6 separate regions of the Homo sapiens genome follow, and all the other regions are linked to region 5. The links are contacts of gene promoters, found by promoter capture Hi-C in blood cells and fetal thymus (Javierre and others, 2016). All regions are on one chromosome and are shown on one strand. The core of a region is centred on a gene start or on the middle of the fragment in contact, and the rest is flanking DNA. Distances in the headings are between cores, read along the strand shown.

Region 1 (3,757 bases), core at 1,166-3,665, 1.6 Mb after region 5:
CAATAGCAAAATGTTAAAAATTGTTGGACCTGAATGAATGGCACAGGGAAATTATTTGTATTACTGTCACGCCTTTCCTGCAAGTTTGTAATTATTTCAAAATTAAAAATTAAAAAATACAATTCCAGTTTCTCTCTCACACCAAATTCAATAGTAAAATATTAAATATTAGACATATAAAAATGTGTACATGCTTTTTTTTGCCAAAAGTTGATGCTAAAAGCCAAGCAGTCTGAGTTTGTCATTTTCTATTTTCTAAGGTAGTTTTGAGAGATTTTTCTCTATTTTCCCATGTTTTTAGAATAACTGGAATTAGAAAGTAGAATCAAGGAATGAGTGTTTTAAGTACTTCCTGAAGCACATTCTGGAATCTTGATCTTGAAACCAAGCTAACCATCCATACTACAGGTATAATTATGTTTAAAATAATGTCTATATCAGAGAATCCTTTATAAATAAGGTATACAGTCATGCACTGAATAACAACATTTTAGTCAGCAATGGACTGTATGACAATGATCCCATAAGATTATAATGGGGCTGAAAAATTTCTATAGCCTGGTGACATCATCGCCATTGTAATGTCATAGAACAATGCTTTACTCACATTTTTGTGGTGATGCTGTTAAAAACAAACTTACTGCACTGCTACCTGTACAGAAGTATAGCACATACAATTATGTATGTTACATAATACTTGATAATAATAAATGACCATGTTAATGGTTCGGGTATTTACTGTACTATATTTTTTTTTTTTTTGAGAAAGGGTCTCACTCTGTCCCGCAGGCTGGAGTGCAGTGGTGCCATAATGGCTCAATGCAGCCTTGACCTCCTGGCCTCAAGCGATCCTCCTGCCTCATCCTCCCTCAGGAATGGGACTACAGGCGTGTGCCACCATGCCTGGCTATTTTTTTTATTTTTTGTGTCTCACTATGTTGCCCAGGCTGGTCTCCAACTCCTGAGCTCAAGCAATCCTCCTGCCTTGGCCTTCCAAAATGCTGGGATTGCAGGCATAAGCCACCACAGCTGACCTATACTTTTTATGTTATTTTAGAGTGTTATTTTACTTTTATATGTAGAAAATTAAATGTAAAATAGCCTCAGGCAGGTCCTTCAGGAGGAATTCCAGAAGACAGCATTATTATCATAGGAGATCACAGCTCCATGCATGTTACTGCCCCTGAAGATGTTCCAGTGGGGTAAGATGTGGAGGGGTAGGACAATGATATATGTGGAGGGGTAGGACAATGATATGGATGATCCTGACTCTATGTAGGCCTAGGCTAATGTGTGTGTTTGTCTTAGCTTTTAATAAAAAAAAAAAAAAACTTTTAAAAAAGATGAATAAAATAAAAATAGAAAAAGCTTATAGAATAAGGATATAAAAAAAGAAAATACTTTCGTTCAGCTGTAAAATGTGTTTGTGTTTTACATGAAGTGCTATTACAAAAGAATAAAAAAGTTTTTTAAAATTAAAAAGCTTATATAGTACAAAAGTTACAGTTAATACTGTCTTCTGGAATTTCTTCTGAAGGACCTGCCTGAGGCTGTTTACATTTAATTTTTTATGTGTAAAAGTAAAAGGAGTACATTCTAAGTGTACAGTAATGTCCTAGGCCTTCACATTCACTTGCCACTCACTCACTCACTTACCCAGAGAGACTTTCAGTCCTGCAAGCTCGATTCACCATAAATACCCTATATGAGCATTCAATTTTTTATCTTTTATACAGTATTTTTACTGTACCTTTTCATTTAGATACACAAATACTTACCATTGTGTTACAACTGCCTATAGTATTCAATACAGTAACAGGCTTTACAGGTTTGTAGCCTAGGAGCAATAAGCTATACCATATAGCCGAGGTATGTAGTAAGCTGCACCCTAGATGGTATCATTAGGTTTGTTTAGCTACATACTATGATGTCTGCACAACAACAAAATCACGTAATGACACATTTGTCATAATGTGTTCCTATCATTAAGCAATACATGACTGTATGTGGGTACTATTACTGTTTTCTAAAAAGCATCTAAGCAAGCATTTAAAAAAATAAAAATACAGTTTACAAAATTAACTTAGAGTAACAAAGTTAGCACTTTTCACTGGCAATCAAACAGAAATATAAAAGTTAGCAACAAATCTGACAATTAAATTCCCTATGCCAAGCCCATACGTGGTAGGTAGATTGGCCCCGAAGAGATGACCTAATCTCTGGCAACTGTGCATGTGTTACCATACATGGCAAAAGAGACTGCAGATGTAACTAAAGTTAAATCCTTAAAATAGGAAAATTATCCTGGATTAACTGAGTGGACCCAATCTAATCATGAGAACACTTAAAAGCAGAGAAATGTTTCCAGCTGTAGTCAGAGAAATGCAGCATAAGGATAAATAAGAGAGATTCAAAGTATGAGAGGAACTTGACTCACCACTGCTGGAGGAGCCACATGGAAAGCATGAGAAAGAATTCAGAAAGCATCTAGGAGCAAAGACTCATCCCCCATCTGGCAGCAAGGAAACAGGGACTTCAGTCCTTCAAGTGCATGTAACCAAATTCTACCAGTTGGAACCTGGGTGAGCCTGGGAATGAATCCTCCCCTAGAGTCTTCAGAGCCCACTGCAACTGACACTTAGATTTTGGTCTCATGAGACAAGGTTTAGAAAAACCAGCTGAGCCCAGCTAGACTTCAGACCTATACATCTGTGAGATAATAACGTGTTGTTTTAAGCCACAGAATTTGTGGTAGTTTGTTATAGCAGCAATAGAAAACTACATGTATTAGCATTTTCTTAATTTATATTTCATTCTAAATATCTTTAATTTGTCAAGGTGGATTAAAAAATGAGAGGCTATATTACCACATTTCTAGCTTTTCATTTCCTCACATTAATTTTGTCACTAAAATGGAAACATAATGCTTGACTAGATTCTGACCATTGAAAAATACCAATTTTTAATTCATGTTAGTCTTTTACTTTTAAAAATGTTTTTTAAAAGCCATTTTCTCTTGGAATATTTTACATGAAAAGTATGACTCAAGTGAGGGTCTATCTATGCAAAGTAGAACTGAGTGTTTCCGACATACGTATACATTACATCTATTACCAGCTGGTGCTCACAGGGTTTTGCGGGAAGGGGACAGTGTTAGAATGCTACATGAGTTCATTTCTTTTATATATTCATATTAAGTGTATCTCCATCTGCTGAAGTACTTCCATTGGCATGGATGAAAATGTCAGTTGAGTGAATTCCAGGCAATTCTCCAAGGTAAGAAAGTTAAACAAGCGAAAAGGGCCAACACATATAAAGAAGGAACTTATCTTTTTAGCAAACGCTATGAAAGCTTTCGGTGTTTTTTTAGAACAAGCAGACATTCTTAGGAAATAATTAAAATAATCTGTCATAGAAAGTAACTGATGAGGTACTGATAAAATTAAGTGGAAAAAATCAGCTAGAGGAACTTGTACTGATTTATCACTTCCTGGAAACTGGGGCTAGTAATGTAGTTCATTCAGTATGCAATCCTCTCTATTAGCCTCTAACATTTAAGAACTATAGTTGCTTTTGGTATGCGGGTTTTAAAAGGGCTGAGTAGCCTAGGACAGTGCTTGTCAAATTTCTCTGGTCAAGGATCAATTTCTTCTTCATTTTTAAAGAAACTTTCTAATCGATTGCAGACCAATAATTTTGTAAAATATAACAAAAACATATTACTAGAAAAATGAAACAAAAAACCAAGACACAAGGT
Region 2 (3,395 bases), core at 264-2,763, 1.6 Mb after region 5:
TCCCATCCTTTCTTTTTTTCCTCCTCGGTTCTTTCCTCTCTTTATTTCTTTTGAGAATGTAGTTAAATTTTTTTCTTAAAAAATGCCATAGAAAAAAATACTAGAATGAATATCTCATGCTGTTAATAGTTATCAGTAGTAACTTGGGGGAATGTAGTGTTTGTTTTGTTAGTTAAATATACTTGGTTTTCAGATTTCTCAAAATGAATGAGAACACTTAATAACATGGTAAAATGTTGAAACTATAGTATTACTTTCAAAAAGGCTATCTAGAATGGAAGAAGGGTGATGTCAGAAAGATGGCAGTATAGCACTTCCCAGTACTTGTCCCTTCACAGAAACATCTATTTGAACCACTATCCTTTTTTTTTTTTGAGACAGAGTCTTGCTCTTGTTGCCCAGGCTGGAGTGCAATGGCGCAATCTTGGCTCACTGCAACCTCCGCCTCCTGGGTTCAAGCAACTCTGCCTCAGCCTCTTGAGTAGCTGGAATCACAGGCACACGCTACCACGCCGGCCAATTTTTGTACTTTTAGTAGAAACGGGGTTTTGTCATGTTGGCCAAGCTTGTCTTGAACTCCTGGCCTCAGGTGATCCACGTGCCTCAGCCTCCCAAAGTGCTGGGATTACAAGCGTGAGCCACCACGCCCGGCCTGAACCACTATCCTTTTATGAAGACACCTTCACATGAACTGAGGAATCCAGATGAGAAATTATAGCACCTAGATGTAGCAGAGAATTAAGAAAAGACACATTGAAGATAGTAGGAAAGAGTCAATCCTTTCCCAAGCCTGGGTAGCACAGAGCTGAGACTTATGGTCCGTGTGAGGAAAGGAGAGTGAGGTAAGTGCCAGCTTTGCTGCAGACTCCAGCACCAGGCCTGCCACAGTGAAACTTGGCACCAGGCTGACTACCATGGCCCTAGACTCTAGGCTGATACCCATGCACTGAGACTACAAGATCACCCCAATGCTAGGCTAATCTCCATGGCGCCTAGATCTATGCCCACTCCATTCCCCATGTTAGTCCCCATAGTTTCAGGCACCAGGCTCCAACACCAGGTTGGGCCCTACAGCCCCAGTCTCCAGGTTGGCACCAGTGGATATAGGCTTTAGGTCCACTGACTGCTGGTCCCTACAGCCCCAGGTTCCAGTGAACCCAGGTTCCAGGCCTGCTCCAACAAACCCAAGGTCCAGGTCTACCCCAGTAGACCCTGGCACCAGAACTACCCCAGAGGGCCTAGCCTACAAGCTACCACCCACAAACCCAGCCTCCATGATGGCCTCTGAAGAATCAGGCTTTAGGTCTTCCCCAGCACCAGACTAGACTGCTAGACTGATGTTCCACTTTTGTCCCCATGGACCCAGGCACCAGGCCCATCTCAGTACTAGGCAGGCCCCTGTCCTGTGAACACAGGCTCCAAGCCAGACCCTGTGGACCTAGATGCCTAGCACACCCACCTACCTATCTGGTCACCAGCCCTGTCTATCTGAGGGCACCAGCAGCAAGGCCACCCATAAAGCCCACAGATGACCTACCCAAAGTCTTGATAGGGTGATGTGAGCAGCATTCCCTGCTGAATCCAGTCTATAAAGACTGGAATGAGTGCCCGCATTTCAATAATGCAAGGAAGAGGAATAATCAGGGAAACATGATACTACCAAAGGACCAAACACCAGTAAACAACCCTAAAGAAATGAAGATCTATGAATATCCTGAAAAAGAATTTGAAATAATTCTTAGAAAAGCTCAGTGACTGCCGGGCGTGGTGGCTCACATCTGTAATCCCAGCACTTTGGGAGGCCGAGGCAGGTGTATCACAAGGTCAGGAGATCAACACCAGCCTGGCTAACACAGTGAAACCCTGTTTCTACTAAAAATACAAACAACAACAACAAAAAATTAGCCAGGCATGGTGGCACATGCCTGTAGTCCCAGCTACCTGGGAGGCTGAGGCAGGAGAATCACTTGAACCTGGAAGGCAGAGGTTGCAGTGAGCTGAGATTGCACCACTGCACTCCAGCCTGGGCAACAGAGTGAGATTCTCAGAAAAAAAAGAAAAAAAGAAGAAAAGAAAAGCTCAGTGACCTACAAGAGAGCTCAAATAGGCAGCTAAATAATATTAGGAAAACAGTAAACAGACAAAATTAGAAATTTGACAAAGAGATAGAAACCATAAAAAGAACTAGGAAAATTCCGAAGCTAAAAAACACAATGACTGAACTGAAAAATTCCACAGAGAGCTCCAACAACAAAATCAAGCAGAAGAAAGTATCCGTTAACCTAAAAATAGGTCATTTAAAATTGCCCAGTAAGAGGAGAAAAAAGAAAAGAAAAAGAATAAAAAAGAGTAAAGAATATCTGTAAGACTTAAGGGTCACCATCAAGTGAACTAATTAATGCACTATGGAAGCTCCAGAAGGGGCAGAGAAAGGGAAAGGGGCAGAAAAACATAATGACAGAAAGCTTTCCAAATCTGAAGAGGGAACTAAACATCCAGACCCATGAAAGCCAAAAAATCCTAAATAGATTAAATACAAAGAGATCTTCACCAAGACACACTGAAATTAAATTTTCTAAAGTCAAAGACAAAGAAATGCAAAAGCTGCAAGAGAAGAGCAACTTCTATAAGGCTATTAACAGATTTCTCAGCAGAGACCTCGCAGGCCAAGAGAGAATGGCCTGCAAGGTGCTGAAAGAAATAAACTGCCAATGAGGACTACTATACCTGGCAAGGCTGTCCTTCAGAAATGAAGGACAAATAGGGAGTTTCCCAGACATAACAAAAGGTATTCTTACCCATAGACCTGCCTTACATGAAATGCTAAAGGGTGTTCTTCAGGTTGAAAGGGCCCTAAAAAACAATATGAAAACACAGGAAAGTATAAAACTCAGTGTAAAAGTAAGAACATAGTTAAATTCAGAATACTCTAATTCTATAACAGTGATGCATAAGTCACTTTTAACTCTAGTGTAAAATTAAAAGAAAAGTAATTATAATAATTTGTTCATGGAAACACAATATATAAAAGTTGTAAATTGTGACACCAATAGCATAAGATGTAGGAGAAGTTAAAGTGTATACTTTTGTATGCAGAAAAAGTTAAATTGTTCGAGCTTAAAATAGACTTATAACTATGATCTTTCGTGTAAGTCTCATGATAACTCCAAAGTAAAAAACTGTAATAGATACACAAAATATGAAGAAAAAGAAAAGCAGTCTACCATATAAAAAAAATAAATAAATTATATAGGAAGGGCCAGGTGCGGTGGCTCAACGCCTGTAATCTCAGCACTTTGGGAGGCCGAGGCGGGTGGATCACCTGAGATCAGGAGTTCGAGACCAACCTGGCCCACATGGTGAAACCCCACCTTTACTAAAACTACAAAAATTAG
Region 3 (3,777 bases), core at 341-2,840, 1.8 Mb after region 5:
TAGATGAGGAAACTGAGTCTCAGAGAGGTCAAGGTCACACAGCTAATGAGTAGACACTGCTGGGCTAAGAGGCCTGGCAATCTGGCTCTAAATTTTGTTCCCTTAACTTCTGCACTACTCTGTGGTAAAAAATGTTCTATTGCATTTTATCACATGTAGAGAAATTTCACAAATTTCCTTTACTTCAGCAAAACTATGAGGTAGATGTTTCCATTATAATCTATGTTAAAGAATGAAAAATTGAAGTTTTTACAAGTAGTGGGTTGGGCTTGAATTTCAATCTTATAGCTTGAATTCCAGTTGCTTAATCTTAGGAAAGTTTTAGTCCTTGAGATTATTATTTTTTGAATGACTGTGCATTTTTGCCTCATATTTTGAGATTATCCTGGAAATTCTAGGGTTTGGAAGAAAAGTGGAGCAGACTGGTGTAGAGGCTTAGGACACAGGTTGTGATTTTGGACTGAGTGGAGAGTCAGCCTGGCACCTATTAGCTGTTTTCCAGGCCTGGGCACTTAACCTCTGTAAAAGGTGTAGCTTCTGCACCTATAAAATGGTGCCTTAATAATCCCTACATTGTAGGATTTTTTTTCCCTTGAGAATTAAATGAAATAATAATGTATGTAACAGTGTTTGCCACAGTGCTTAGTACATACTAAGCACTCGACAAAAGTTAAGAAAAAAAGTAATACGTCTTTCATAAAATGTTTACACATAGCTTTCTTTAAAACAAAGATTACACGTGATCTTTAAATCCCAATGAAGTTAATGCAATGAACGTATACTTATTTGGTTGTGCAAGGAGATTAAGTTAATGTCTAGTTTGCATAGTCAATGAATCTGCCTACAGTCAAACTGAACTGGAGACCACACCTGTCTAGAAAATGCACTTCAAGGTTGAGATTTTTCCACTGGAAGAAATTCTGAAGGAACAATTGCACTTTAAAAAAATGAGATTATTTCATTTACCTCACACCAAACAGGCTGCAAGTTGGTTATCTGTTTTTTTTTTCCCCCTCAGGGAGTCACCTAAGTGGCAAGTGCAGAAAGGAAGAAGTCCTGGAAGAAGGAAGTGGAGTGGACACTTGCTGAAAGAAATCTTAACTCTAGTATCTTCCCAGTGCAGTTCCTATTTTGGGTTTCAACTCCCCCAGAGGAGTCCTTTTAGTGCAGCTCCTGACTGCCCGATTCCACCGGACTTCTCTCAGTAGACAGACTGAAGGGCAGATCAAAGGCTAGAGCCTGCGCTCTGCCACGCCCTTGCTTCTGCCCAGAAGGGAGCCTTCTTCTCATCACCTCTTGAAGAGCCACCTTTGCTCCCAGGAGAGCACACTTAGCTCGTTTGCTGCCAGGCCCTCCACACACTCTGCACTCTTTAGAGCCACCTGCCAGTTCTCTCCCTTCTGAGACCCTAGTATTTTGTGGTTAGCGCTACGAAACTGTGTCCCTAAGGCTCCTTGCCAGTCGCCACTGAAGACTTCTCAGCCTAAAGAGCCCTTGGCCAAAGTCCCCACCCACCGCCCCTGCCGCGCGCCATTGAGCCCCCGCGCCGCAGACCTTGAGGTCCTGCTCCAGGCTGCGCAACAGCTCCCCGTCGATTTCCCCGGTCTGGGCGTAGCGGAGCCTTTTGCGCTCGGCTTTGCGGAGGCGGTACTGCAGGATCCGGCAGTTTTTGTTGGCTCTCTCCAACTCGTGGCGCATTTCCTGCAGTTGACAGGCATCCTCCTCGAAGAAAGTGTCCCTCATCTCGTCCATCTCGGTTCTCAGCTCATCGATCTCGTTCTGAGGCGGTGACAGGCCGCGTGTCAAAATCAAACTCGCTTCCAGCCCTTCCGACACACACCGTACACACCCCATTCCAATTCCAAATTCTCAGCTTTAATTGCCCTCTCTCTCCACGAGACAGGAGTGACAAGGAGCTGAGTACAGAAGAGGAAACTGGGGGAAAAAGGCCCACTTTAGGCCCTCTCTCGTTCTCTTACTCTACCTCTCTCCAGGAAGAAGTGTGACAAACCATTATAATTAGAGAAACGGAGGCCCAGATTTGAATTTAAATGAAAACCTCGCGTTACTGAGAGCAGATTCAAATTCCGGCAAGGCCTAGGAAACCCCCTCCCTCCTTTCTTGTTCTCCTCCCTCTTCAAGGCTCCCTAACAGGTTAGCAGCCTCTGATCCCTGCCGGTACACGCCCTAATCCTCCCAGGCCCACTCTTCCCATCCCCCAGCCGGGTCCCCCCACCCTCCTCACCTTGAGAGTCTCGTTTTCCTCTCGCAGCTTCTCCATCTCCTCTTGCATTTCTTCCTGCTCTTGGAGCTGCTGCGGGTGCGGCTGCGACGAAGGGGGCGCTGCCGCCTGCATGCCCCCGCCGCTCGCGCTGCCCTCTGCGCTCTGCTGGGGGCCCTCCGCCGCCGCCGCCATTGGGGAGGCGGAGGCGACGGCCAGGGTCTCGCAAACGGCAGGGGGGCCAGACACCGGGGAGCTGCGGCTACTGCTGCCGCCGCCGTTCTTAGCGTGCATCTGAGCCGCGGCCGCCGCCGCTGCCGCCCGCTCCTTCTTGAGATGGAACTGGATGAGCTCAGACTGCAGACATCCTTCTTTCCAGTAGCTCCCTCCACCACCGCTGCCGCCCCCCGCAACGCCGCTTCCGGAGTTTCTGCTGCCGGTTCCTGGGGTTTTGCCCGCAGAAGAGGAGGATGGAGAAGGGGAGGCCCCCTCCCCGCCGCTGCCGCCCCTCTGCTGAGCGCGTACGCCTTTCCCTCGCCAGCCCCTGGGCGGCGGCGGCTGCGGAGCGCCCCCCTCCCTTTCCCCGGAGCCGCCGCCGGCTCCTCCTCCTTCCCCGCCCCCTCCTCCCCCTTCTCCGAGCGGAGGGGGTTCCCCGAGTTTCGAGGGCACGGACTCTAGCTCCCGAGGCGGCTCCTCGGGCGGTCCGGGCCTCCTGCCGCCCAAAGCGGCCAGGGTCGCGGCGGGGGCCGCTTCAGCACCAGCCACAGGCTGGACAGCTCCCGGAGCGGCCCCTTTGGGCGCCAGGGGCGTCGCCTTCTCGGCCCCACCTCCGCCTCCTCGGATGCTGGCGGGCGGCCCCGTGCGGCTCCCGGTCTTGTTACCCTGCTGTTGCTGCTGCTGCAGCTGCTGCTGCCGAACAGAATTGAGTTTAGTGCCGGCCCCCACTGGGGACCGGGTGGCCGCGATTGTCTGTCGCAGCGAACTGTCCCTCGGTCTAGCGGGTGACTGAGCTCGCTGCTGCTTTCTGCTGCTGCCCTCCGGGTGCAGACGAGCCTCAGTGGCTGCAGCGGCGGGAGAAGCTGCTGCTGTGGCAGGGGCAGCGCCCCCGATTGGTGGCTGACTCATGGCTATGAACCTACCAGATGCGATTTGGAAGAGCCCATTACTAGATCATCCTCTTCCCTCTTCACCGCCGCCAACCTTCCTTCCTAAGCTGGGACAGAAACAAAAGGAGAGAAGAAGACAACATGTCTGAATTTTTGCAGAGCAAAGGGTGATATTGCTCCATTTGGATGGCGCTTAATAGAAGCTTTGACTTTAGGAATAGGATGCAGGGCTGTCTTTAGGAATAGGATGGAGGGCTGTCAATTCTCATTTTGCCCAGGGTGGCGCTGTCTCCATCTCACTCCACCTCAGCAAAATGACGGATCTGAAAGCAGCTGAACCTTACATTCTCATGGTAGCAGGCTTTGGAAAGGGTGAGATACAGAGTCAGACAGGAATTGATGGAAAGGGAGATATAAAAGAAAAGAGGATAAAGTGGAAAAGAAGCTTCA
Region 4 (3,357 bases), core at 285-2,784, 1.6 Mb after region 5:
GGCATGATTTTGCAGTAAAAATAAATCTTTTACCTTTCCTGTTTGCAAAGACCCACTTTGCAGGGGTGTGTGAATACAAGGTAAATCTAAAATGTTTTCCAAGATGGAATTTTTGTAGGTTCTGACCTACAATGCAAAGGTGCAGGTCTAAAGTAATTGAAAATTTCCTAATATACACTGCTCCCATGTAGAAAGGATTATTTAAAAAAATAATAACTTCAGATTTATCTATGAAAAAGTCAAATGCAATAGGAAAAGGAGGTGAATAGGGTTTAAACAATGAAGATACTATTTTAGAATAGTAATGTTATGATTCTATTACTCTCTCTAGACTCTCAGATACAATAGGTACCAAAAATACAGTAATGTCCAATTAATAACCTTGCTTAAATAAGAATTTCCTTACTTTTCATAATTTTAAATTTGTCTACATTCGGAATGTGAAAGTAGAAAGCTAATCAACCAAAACATGTCAGTTTGTAACCTCAAACATACCTTGATAGGCCAAGAAGAATTTTTCCTCTTTGCTTCTTTACCTAGGTGCAAAGTCAATTCATATTCCTCAGAAAGCTGTAAAAACTTTCCAATCCATAGTTCTTTTTCTCATCTCCTCTGGATACAGACCACTTCACCACACATTCTACTAATTTGGAATATTAGGTAAACTTTATGTGTCATGTCTTGATCAGTGTCTTTATTATTCTGCTCTAATACCAGTATTTAACTTTCCCAGTATCTATTCCTAAATACAGCTAGTTATATAAGCTCTTTAGGGGATATGTCTTAAATTTTTCTTATCTTTCATTTCTCTTATTTTTAAAATACATATGTATATACTTCATTAACATGTAATTAAATGATTATCCTCTACGGCACAAAAAAATAGTACATCATTAGAATAGATGTAATTTGAAAATTAGCTATTATTTCTTAACTAGTACAAATAATGGAATAGCAAAAAGCTATTTTTGGTCTTTTAGAAATCATATTTTAAAAAGAAGGCTGCATTACCTCATAAATCTTGTTAAGGTGTTTTGCATGAACATGCATACGGCCATTCCATCCTTTAAATAAAAATAAGCAGAAACACAAAGGTATAATGCAAATATATTACATTAAATTTTTTAAATTAAGGTTTTAGAAAGTAATGAAGCCAAAAATATGTCTTTTTTAAACAATGACATTTCCATTTAAAACTCTTTGATGTTGTCTGAAATGCAAATAATGCTGTATTTGACTGTTGATATCCTAGGGCTCCTTGAGCTCAGCTTTGCATGAGGTATTAGCAAAGATGTAGGGATAAGAGACAGATCACATACCCTAGATCACTATGGAGTTCTACTCAGGGTAATGACAGGGGAAAGGCATAAGATATACCCATCTGTTATCCTTAAGATGATAAACATATAAGAGAAGAAGGGAAAGAAGGGAAAAGTTATGTTAAGCTTTGATTTTTAAAAAAATATTTCTAAGGCTTTATCTTGGTATTGCCACAACTTATAATTTTCACAAACAAATTTCCTAAGAGTAGTCCAAACTCATTGCCTTGTCTTTTTTTTAGCTCACATACTTTCTTCAATCCAGTGTAATCTGGCCCTCTGCCTTATCCCAAAATCTCTCCTCAAAAGCTTTTAATAATCTCCTACTTGTCAAATTAAATGACTTTTCCTTATTCACCTTTTCTCTCTCCATAACACGTAGTATCTTTCTTTAATCAGTTTCTTCATTCTCATATTTGCTCTCACTTTCTAGCAACATTTACACACCTGGTTCTCTTATTTCTTTGTTTGTTCTTTTCCAGTCTTCTTCCTTGGCTCTTCTTATCCAGCTAATCCCCTAAATCCATGCAGTTTCAAAATTCTAATCCATGATTTTCTCTGTTCTTTATTTATAATTTCTTTTTTTTGGAAGTCTCATCTACTTCCATATAAAGTGCTAAAATCTACTAGACATTTTCACATTCTGATAGCACCTCAAACTCAGCACGGCAAAACCAACTGAAAGTAAAAGAACTGACTTTGAATCCTAGTGCTGCCACTTAATAACAACATGAAATTGAGCAAGTCATGACTACGTAATTCAGTTTCCTCATTCATAAGAAATGAGAAATTAAAAAAAATTGCACTATTTGACTTAAAGGATGTTTAGAAAGATGAAAATATACCTAGAAACTCTATAAAAGATTGCATAAGTGTTCTGTGTTAGTGGAAAAAGTTAGTGTAAGAGTTCTGAGCTAGCGGTCAATAAGGCTCAGATTTTTGGTACTATGTTTGACTTTCCCGTTTCACAATTCTCCCACACTCAGTTAGTTACCAAGTACTTCCCCTCGGATCTACCTTAGAAATATTTCAAATATCAATCCCTTCTTTTATATTTTTGCTGCTGCTGCATTAGTTCATACCTGTGTTACTCAAGCCTTGATTAGTACAGTAAGATGGCTTTGCTTTCTCCCACCCAAGGACTAATCAGACCCAACACTGATTAACTTCTGAGATCGGCAAGATTGGGTGCATTCAGGGTGGTATGGCTGGAGACAACAGCTTTGCTTCCTAACTGATTTCTGTATTTAATTTCTTTTTCCTCTTAAATATAATCTTCCATCCTGCTACCTGATAAACCTTCCTGTAGGATGATGATGTCTTATAGAATAAAACCTAAATTTCTTGGCAAGGCCACTTGATCCCAAACTATCTTATCAACTTTATTGATTACCATACCCCTCCTCCAAGCATCCTAATTTCACCACACAAACTATTTGCCATCCCTCTAACACCTTACACTTATTGTGGCTCCTGTGTCTTTGCTTTTATCATTCCTACTAGTTGTAATAGGCTGTCCTTCTCTCTACCTATTTCAAGGAATGCCCAGATCATATAATATTTTTCCATCAAGATTTTCTAAATCTCACAATAACAATTTTCTCTTTTGTGTTTCAACAGTATTTTTATTTTTATGCCTTAATTATAGTACTTATAAATTGTGTTGTATGAATATGTGTTTAGATGCATTATCAGACACATCATCTCTACAAGATGGGGACTAGAGAACCTAAGAAGTTCTCAATAATTTTGCCAGAGATACAGAAATACAACTATCAAAGTACAGGTATTATACAAAGTGCTTGAACAAACTCAGAAGAGTGTCAAAGAAGAAATTATTCATTTCAATTGGGATGGGGGTAGTTAGACAGGCTTTAGAGAGGAGAAGGGAAGGTGGCATTTGCTAGGTCTAGACAGTAAGTCCCTTGATGGTGACAGTATGCCTTCCCCCTCCTCAGACGCTAGTAAAATGTTTTGCACATAGTGTTTGTTGAACTTAAAAAAATTAGATGAATTTTAGATGGAGAACTATGTTGAT
Region 5 (3,510 bases), core at 35-2,534:
GATAGACGGCCCTTTCTCAGAGGCTCTCTCCACTACTGACCAAGCGGCCCTGCCAACGTGTGGTTTCCGGCTGGACCCCAACCCAGCCGCCGCCAGTCTCCCGGCGCCCCTGGCTGGGTCTCGCTCAGTCCCTGCCCTCGCAGACGCACAGCGGGGTGGCCAGTTCAAAAGTCCTACATAACTTGGAGAGAACCAGCAGCTAGAAAACCTGTTTTAAACACACAGCTTGAGTTTTATACAACCCACGTTGTCCAAGGCACGAACTGTTGGACACGAATTCATACTTTAGAAACCAAATCTAATTTCCAAGCGCCAATCTTCACCTCCCGGACTCTAACTCTGCGGCTGCGAGTGCATACACCAGGGGGACTGGAGGAGACTGGAGGCAATTATCTGGATAATCCAAGCCCGAAAAACTCGAACTTGAAAATATACGATTATGTCCTGAAATGCCCGCGTCATTGATCTAGTCTTTCCTACCATCAGAGCTGACACAGCTCCAGTCCACGGGCTTCTCCGCGGGGTCTAGGATCCACAGTCCCTGGGGGCTGAAGACCCAATGGAAGTAACTGATGGATCGCAAATTGGAAATCGTAACGTGGCCGACAGACCTGATCAGGAAAACTCGCGTCCTTATATGAAACAGCCCCGAGGCCGCGAAAGTAGCCTCAGGAGTTGTCAGATTCAAAAGCAATTTTGATTTAAGGTTTTCAAAAGCCCCAGAGGGCAAATGTGACCACTCGGGTCAGCCAGTCAGCAGTTTGGATCCAGACAGGGGACCACCGAGTGGGGCGGCCGAGGAGCCGCGGCGCCTCCCGACGTCACACGCGCCTGCTCGCACTTAGCCACGCGCTTGGGGTTATTCTTTACACTCAGGACTGAAACTTCGCCCGCGAGACCGCGGGGCGCGGAGGAGGGCCGAAACCCAAGGTCCAGGTCCAGGGCCCGCCCCCGCGCGCCCGCGTTGGCGCCCGCGCGCTCCCTCCGCAGGGGTTAGCAAGATTGCGCTCATTCTCGCCCCGGCTGCTCCCCACCCGCTCGCTGCTCTGGGGTACCAGGTCCGCGGCCGCGTTCCCACGCCTCGGCTGGAGCCTTGCGGCGGGCATTGGCGAGCGCGGCCCCGCCCCCTGGCCCAGCCAATCGCGAGCCACGCCGACCAGCGAGGGGGAGGTGCCGGGCGGAAGGCCTGGGCCGGTGCGCGGGGGCGGGTGAGGTGGCCCCACCCGCTCGAGGGGGGGGCGTGGCCGGCGCCGGCTCTTGCGGCCGAGCAGAGTTGCGGCGTGGGAAAGAGCCGCTAGGAGCAGACCGCGCCGCCGCCGGAGCCGCGCCTGCCCAGGCCCGGGGAGGGAGGAGGCGGGCGTCAGGGTGCTGCGCCCCGCTCGGCGTCCGAGCTTCCGGCCGGGCTGTGCCCCGCGCGGTCTTCGCCGGGATGAAGCGCCCCTGCGAGGAGACGACCTCCGAGAGCGACATGGACGAGACCATCGACGTGGGGAGCGAGAACAATTACTCGGGGTGAGCGCGGGCTCCGCGGGAGCGGCCCGCAGCTCGGGAGCTTGGGGTAGCTTTGTGAATGCGTGGCTCCCTGGAAATCCCGAGGCTGGTCTCCGCAGCATCTAGGTAGAGAGGGAAAGTTTGGCCTGAGAAAGTTTGAGTGGTGGGCGCTCGCAGAGCGTGAGTTGGGATGGGGCAAGGGATGTGGATTTTCACCGTAGGGGTGGAGTAGCCAGGATGGGAGACGCCACTGAAAGGCAGAGCGCAGGAGTTGGCGAGGGAGGGTCCTGGCTGTCACAGTTGGACGCGCGAACGGCAGCGTCTGGGCGACAGGCGATGTCCCAGCCACTGAAACCGTATTTGGGGGCACTTTCAAAATAGATCAGGAGAAAATAAAAACAATTTGATTTTTGATTTTTAGAGATACCAAAATCACAACTTGATTTTTGGAGGAATTAAAGCAACCTGCGATGTCAAGGCTACGTAGGTTGAACTTTGCAGGTTGACCGTGTGTGACTTGGCTAACGCAAGAGTGAGTGACAGATGTAAGCATCGGAAAGGGCATCATTTCTTTGACTGCTTGTTCTCAAGTCTGGAAGAGATCGGCGTCGTAATCACAGAAGCCAGACCTCCACTTTCCTGTGACAGAGGGAGATTACCGAGGCATTTTAGAGCCAAGGCGGGTCAAATGATAATTGCTTCTAATTGGCATCCCCAGAAGCACCTTAATTATTTATCTGCAGCTGTCACTCAAAGAGGGAAATTCTTCCTACCTTTGGAAAACTGGTTTTCTTTCATATTGTTATTCTAATACATACAAAGCAAAGCACAAAATCTGCAAGAGCAAAGATATTTACACGAAAGCAAAGGTTTAAGTATCTGATCATTAAAGTGTTGTTGTGCCGTCTTTAAAAATGAGGTCTGAAAAACAGAAGCTATCACGTGAAAGGTGAAACCCGTAAAGAAGGGGTGAAAATGAGGGGGACAGGTAATTCAGAAATAAGATCCAGAAGTGAGAAGGTGAGGTAATAGCAACCTGGTGTGTGCAGCATTTCTAAAATGAAAGAGAACAAATAACAGGAACCTGGGGAATTTGAGAACACAAAGAAGCATAGTATCCATGAATTATGAAGAGAAACAGATACAAACTAGAAAGGATTGTAAAAATTATGTGACCAAATAATACTTTGATTGAACCTTCAATATAAAAATATATTTTCATTAGTAAATCCAAGGTGCATTGCAGCTTCTGGAGATTTAAGCTTAGCCTAAAGTCTGAGACACACCTACAGTTTCATTTTCAAAGTAAAACATTCACCTAGTAATAAAATGAGTTTTAATTTTCCTATCAGTGGCATATTTAGGGCATATTTTTGGAAGATTAGTATGCAAAACATCAAGTTTGTCAATTTTTTCCTGTTGCAATATATGACTAACTGAAGTTTTGAAACAGTAAGATAACTTCTATTTATTTTAAAGTTTGCACCTAGAGACAAGAGTTTGACGTATGACGACTGCACATCTGTTTGATAGTGGTGCTTAACATAACCCTGATTTGAAAAAGTGGCATTATTTTGTTCAGTGTGCCTGACAGGAGGGAGAAGGAAAGCTATTTGAGATTAGTTGACTTTAAAATATATGAGTGGAACTAGGAAATGCTAATATCTAACTTCTCAGCCCAACTGCCGGTAATTATTTCACTGGGAGACTTTCAAGTAAAAATTGTGGGACATTTTGGCCAATGGGTTAGCATCTGGATTACAAATTAAGGCGTAATTTTTACCTGAAAAGAGACAGCCGGGCTGAAAGCAAAGTCCGTTAAGAGTGAAACAAGAACTAAGAATAAAATAACACAGACTTGAACTGTGCAATCACTCTGAATATTTAATGGGTGCCACAAGTACCCAGAAGAAACTATTGTTATGTTAATGCAGCACCTGACATACTCTTCTTATTTCATAGGCAAAGTACTAGCTCTGTGATTAGATTGAATTCTCCAACAACAACATCTCAGATTAT
Region 6 (3,411 bases), core at 391-2,890, 1.4 Mb after region 5:
ACAGGAAAGAAAGCTTGTAGTCCTTTTGTGCCCACCTCCCCCAGCGAGGACCACGGCGCAGGAAGCTTTCCCCGGGCGCTGCCTCAGGGAGCTGTGGGATGATGCACCTCTAGGTTGGGCCGAGAGGAGTCAAAAGGCAAACTGCTTTTCGACCTGCCTTAATCATCTCAAGGCCAAGTCAAAGGAGACCTCTGTTTGTGTTGAGGGGATGAAAGAAGGAATAGTGGAACTGGGTTGCAATTCCAATTTTTCTGTGGGAGTGGGACTGGGAGACAGCACCCACAGCGATGCTCTTGCTCCTTCGCACTTGAGTCTGCGTTTGCGGCTTGGTTTGCTGGTGCAATCCTGGTAGAGGGGCGACCCCTTGCGTCCTCGGAGGAGACAGACTAGACTCTTGGCAGGTGCAGTATGACTTAAGGAGGAAGGAGTGGAGGGTAGAGAGGTCCTCTTTAAATGCCCAGAAACTCAAGGTCAAACTGCATGTGCACAAACTCAGATATACCGTTTGTTTTGAAATCTCTGGGGGAAAAAAACGAACAAAAAGATTCAATTCACAGTTCCTGTTTCTCAAGTAAGGACTAGGAAAAGTTTTTAAAATGAAAACATGTGGTCAAACGTGTTTTCAAAAGAGGCTGGCTATCCTAATTGTTTCTTCAAGAGACAATTAAGTGAATATTTAAGGAGTCTTCTGGCCTGTAGTTATATAGTTTCAATTTCCTAAGCTTAAAATCATCAATAAAGATATGACAGGTAGAAAATTAGGTGTTAAAAACTTCTACAAAAAATTTAATGGTCTCTCTTGATTTAGTAGGAAACTTTTTTGTAAACAAGAACATTCATTTGAAGTGTTAAATATTGTCATGTCCAAAGAATCATGCATTATCCTCAGAAATAGCAAATAAAGCCATATCAGTATTCTCCTGTTTCCCTAAAACAACTGTAATTCCATTTGTCTCTACTTTGATATAAACTAGTGATCCTAGTTATTACAAACTAGTGTTTCTTCTCATAAAAGAAACAATGTTTTAAGACAAGACCCTTGTACTTTAAAATGTCTATTTAGTTATGGGTGAATAAATACACAATAAATTTTTATCTATTTGAATTGGTATACAGCTCTTAAAAATGACTCAACCTTTGAATTCCAGATTGTGTGCTAATAACATTAAGAAGCACTTTTTTTTTGCCATAATGATAGCCACAGAATCTTAGTGGGGCCTCACATTTTCACGTGGATTAGTTGCTTGGGCCCTGAAATAGCCACTGAAGTGAAGAAGCAGGTACTTATCTTCCCATCTTAGAAAGAAAAGGCCTGAGAACTAGAGGCTCAGTAACCTACATAATGCCATATATCTAGCAAGTGGAACTTGTCTCCTGCCATGAATCTCACAGTTATGTACACCTTTATTCTATATTCTGGTCATAGAGAAGATATCAGGTTTATTAAGTAATAAATTAGATGGTCTCAAGGCCATCATTTATTCAATAGGTTTAGAGAATAAACTGTTCTCCTTGACTGGAAATTTTTGAACTCATTATTTTATATAATGGTGATCAATGTCAAAGAATTAAATACCTAATAGTAAAGTTTTCTAAACGGAATATATCATTTGATTATCTAGGAGATACTATGGGATTATTCTGTGCCAGAAGGTTATTGTTAGAAACATCAGATGGCATTTAGCATCCTTTTTATTTGATGCCATCTAGTAGCTCGGTTTTAATTGTTCAGACTCTAGATAAATGCAAGTTTTGAAAAGCCATTATATGCATAATAATTTAAAAGCACTCATTGCACAATCTATAAAACTTCGCAAGTCTTTCATAAAGACGTCTGAAGAAAGAGAGAAAGAATAAAAAGGAAATAATTTTCATGGTAATAAAATAAAAACAGACTATTGGAATGTACTGGTCATTGCTCATGACATTGTTTCAGATGTTGAGCCAGTCTTTGAAATTATGACACACCCTTTGTGATTATGTTGTGAATCCTGGAAAATAACAAGTTAACTGATAAAATAGAAAAATCTTTAATTCTACTATACATTTTGTAATATTAATTTCAAATGAAAGTTTGGTTTGGATATTGACTACAATGTATTTTTCACACTTGTCTACGTTTCTCACCAGTCTGCCTTATTTTTGAGAGTAACAGTGTTTTAAAGATACAGACACGAATAGAATTTGCTGAAGAAAGTGTATTCTTTGATACGTCGTGTAACAGCTGTATAAATCAAGACAAATGCAAATTCATATGCGGTAGTGGCAACATCTAAATGCAAGGAAAAACATCTTTGTGAACTCAAATTTAATCATCATTACATTATCAGGGTTGTTTCTCAAAATATCCCATGGTGACACTATTTTAATTCCGTTTATTACTTTAATAGAAGGATTTTAACAAGAACGTTAGAAATGGTAATTTTAAAATACCTTCTTTTTAGCCCCAAGTTACTCAAGTAATGAGAATGTAAGAATGAGTATGAAACTGATTTAATGTTGTTATTTCAATATTCCTTTAAACATGAAATATGAAGAGTATTTGAACTTGCAAATAGATAAGCTTTACTAAGTCATTTCTCCATTAAATAATTCCCTGGCATTTAATATTGTACAAATTAGGTCCCCAGAAAGCAATGAATGGAAATTACAACGTGTAGTAAAATTTTATTTTCCAGTTATTATGGGGAAACCCTTGCTGCATTGCTCCAAAATGAATTTATTAGACATCTGATTATTTTAGATTATTTGAATCTGGACAGAGATCTCCAGATTGCTACTAAATGTCTAAAATATTTTCTAGTTCAATGGTTAATCTTTTTTTAGTTGTAATAATTCTTTTGAATCCTATGCAATGTTGGCAGAGTACTATGTAGAGTTTTCAGAGCCCTATGTAGAGTTAAGACCAAAATACACCTCTGCAATTATAAGAATGAGCTATGAAAAAATAAAACTATTCTAGATATACTGATTTGCCAAATTGTCTTTTCCCCTTTGTCTCCATCCCAATGTTTCATTTTGGACATATCTTGATCTCTCTCTTCCTACTTCTTCACTATTCACTCACATATCCCATCCCCACCCCAAAAAAATTATTTTCCAAGTAGTGAATTCTTGAAATGCCATCAGAGTGGATATTGTGTTTCATGAAATGTAAGAAAAAACTTTGGTTACCATTAGGAAAACATCATTCAGTTTTAAGAGCACAGTAAGGATCATGCAAGACAGTGTGTTGAAATTATGTTTGACTTGGTTAGGACTATTTCTTCTAACAGTGCATTATGTGCTGGCATTTTTTTTTTGAAAATAATAATTTGAAAAAATGTTGCATCATAAATTGCACAGTTTTTTTTTTTGCTTGGCCTTTGATTTTAAGGGCAAATGTAGATTGCTTTCTTAATTAGAGATTTT

Evidence for each region. The method cuts DNA at HindIII sites, captures the fragments that hold promoters and counts their contacts. A CHiCAGO score of 5 or more calls a contact.
Region 1: a contact is called between a fragment that was not itself captured here and the fragment with the promoter of HEY2 in region 5, in 1 of 17 cell types (naive B cells). The highest score is 5.6, in naive B cells.
Region 2: a contact is called between a fragment that was not itself captured here and the fragment with the promoter of HEY2 in region 5, in 1 of 17 cell types (total B cells). The highest score is 7.1, in total B cells.
Region 3: a contact is called between a fragment that was not itself captured here and the fragment with the promoter of HEY2 in region 5, in 2 of 17 cell types (total B cells and naive B cells). The highest score is 8.8, in total B cells.
Region 4: a contact is called between a fragment that was not itself captured here and the fragment with the promoter of HEY2 in region 5, in 1 of 17 cell types (total B cells). The highest score is 9.4, in total B cells.
Region 6: a contact is called between a fragment that was not itself captured here and the fragment with the promoter of HEY2 in region 5, in 1 of 17 cell types (total B cells). The highest score is 5.0, in total B cells.

The regions. Positions count from the first base shown.
Region 1 is chr6:127,298,132-127,301,888 of GRCh38, forward strand. The region is part of intron 5 of ECHDC1 (ethylmalonyl-CoA decarboxylase 1); the gene reads right to left. Among named protein-coding and RNA genes, the nearest start is that of RNF146, 33 kb to the left of the region's middle. The HindIII fragment of the contact is 1,869 bases long and covers 1,482-3,350 here.
Region 2 is chr6:127,347,924-127,351,318 of GRCh38, forward strand. No RefSeq gene overlaps it. Among named protein-coding and RNA genes, the nearest start is that of ECHDC1, 6.0 kb to the left of the region's middle. The HindIII fragment of the contact is 1,900 bases long and covers 564-2,463 here.
Region 3 is chr6:127,513,269-127,517,045 of GRCh38, forward strand. MTCL3 (MTCL family member 3) reads right to left here. Exons shown (of 7, transcript NM_001400265.1): 2 at 2,246-3,434; 3 at 1,555-1,779. The coding sequence starts at 3,346. SOGA3-KIAA0408 (SOGA3-KIAA0408 readthrough) reads right to left here. Exons shown (of 13, transcript NR_174482.1): 2 at 2,246-3,434; 3 at 1,555-1,779. It overlaps LOC107986642 (a long non-coding RNA gene), which reads left to right. Exons shown (of 2, transcript XR_001744337.2): 2 at 1,019-2,032. Among named protein-coding and RNA genes, the nearest start is that of MTCL3, 4.2 kb to the right of the region's middle. RefSeq lists an enhancer at 1,539-2,063 and a silencer at 2,751-2,980. The HindIII fragment of the contact is 3,876 bases long and covers 1-3,528 here.
Region 4 is chr6:127,315,439-127,318,795 of GRCh38, forward strand. It overlaps ECHDC1 (ethylmalonyl-CoA decarboxylase 1), which reads right to left. Exons shown (of 6, transcript NM_001002030.2): 4 at 1,012-1,064. LOC105377994 (a long non-coding RNA gene) reads left to right here and starts at 1,547. Exons shown (of 4, transcript XR_001744334.2): 1 at 1,547-3,357. It also overlaps the pseudogene RNA5SP217. The HindIII fragment of the contact is 183 bases long and covers 1,444-1,626 here.
Region 5 is chr6:125,748,348-125,751,857 of GRCh38, forward strand. HEY2 (hes related family bHLH transcription factor with YRPW motif 2) reads left to right here and starts at 1,285. Exons shown (of 5, transcript NM_012259.3): 1 at 1,285-1,512; 2 at 3,454-3,510. The coding sequence starts at 1,430. It overlaps HEY2-AS1 (HEY2 antisense RNA 1), which reads right to left and starts at 1,078. Exons shown (of 5, transcript NR_183491.1): 1 at 612-1,078. RefSeq lists a silencer at 794-1,503. The HindIII fragment of the contact is 5,509 bases long and covers 1-2,751 here.
Region 6 is chr6:127,121,218-127,124,628 of GRCh38, forward strand. All of the region lies in intron 1 of RSPO3 (R-spondin 3), which reads left to right. LOC105377989 (a long non-coding RNA gene) reads right to left here. Exons shown (of 14, transcript XR_002956387.2): 4 at 1-519. Among named protein-coding and RNA genes, the nearest start is that of RSPO3, 4.3 kb to the left of the region's middle. The HindIII fragment of the contact is 1,841 bases long and covers 721-2,561 here.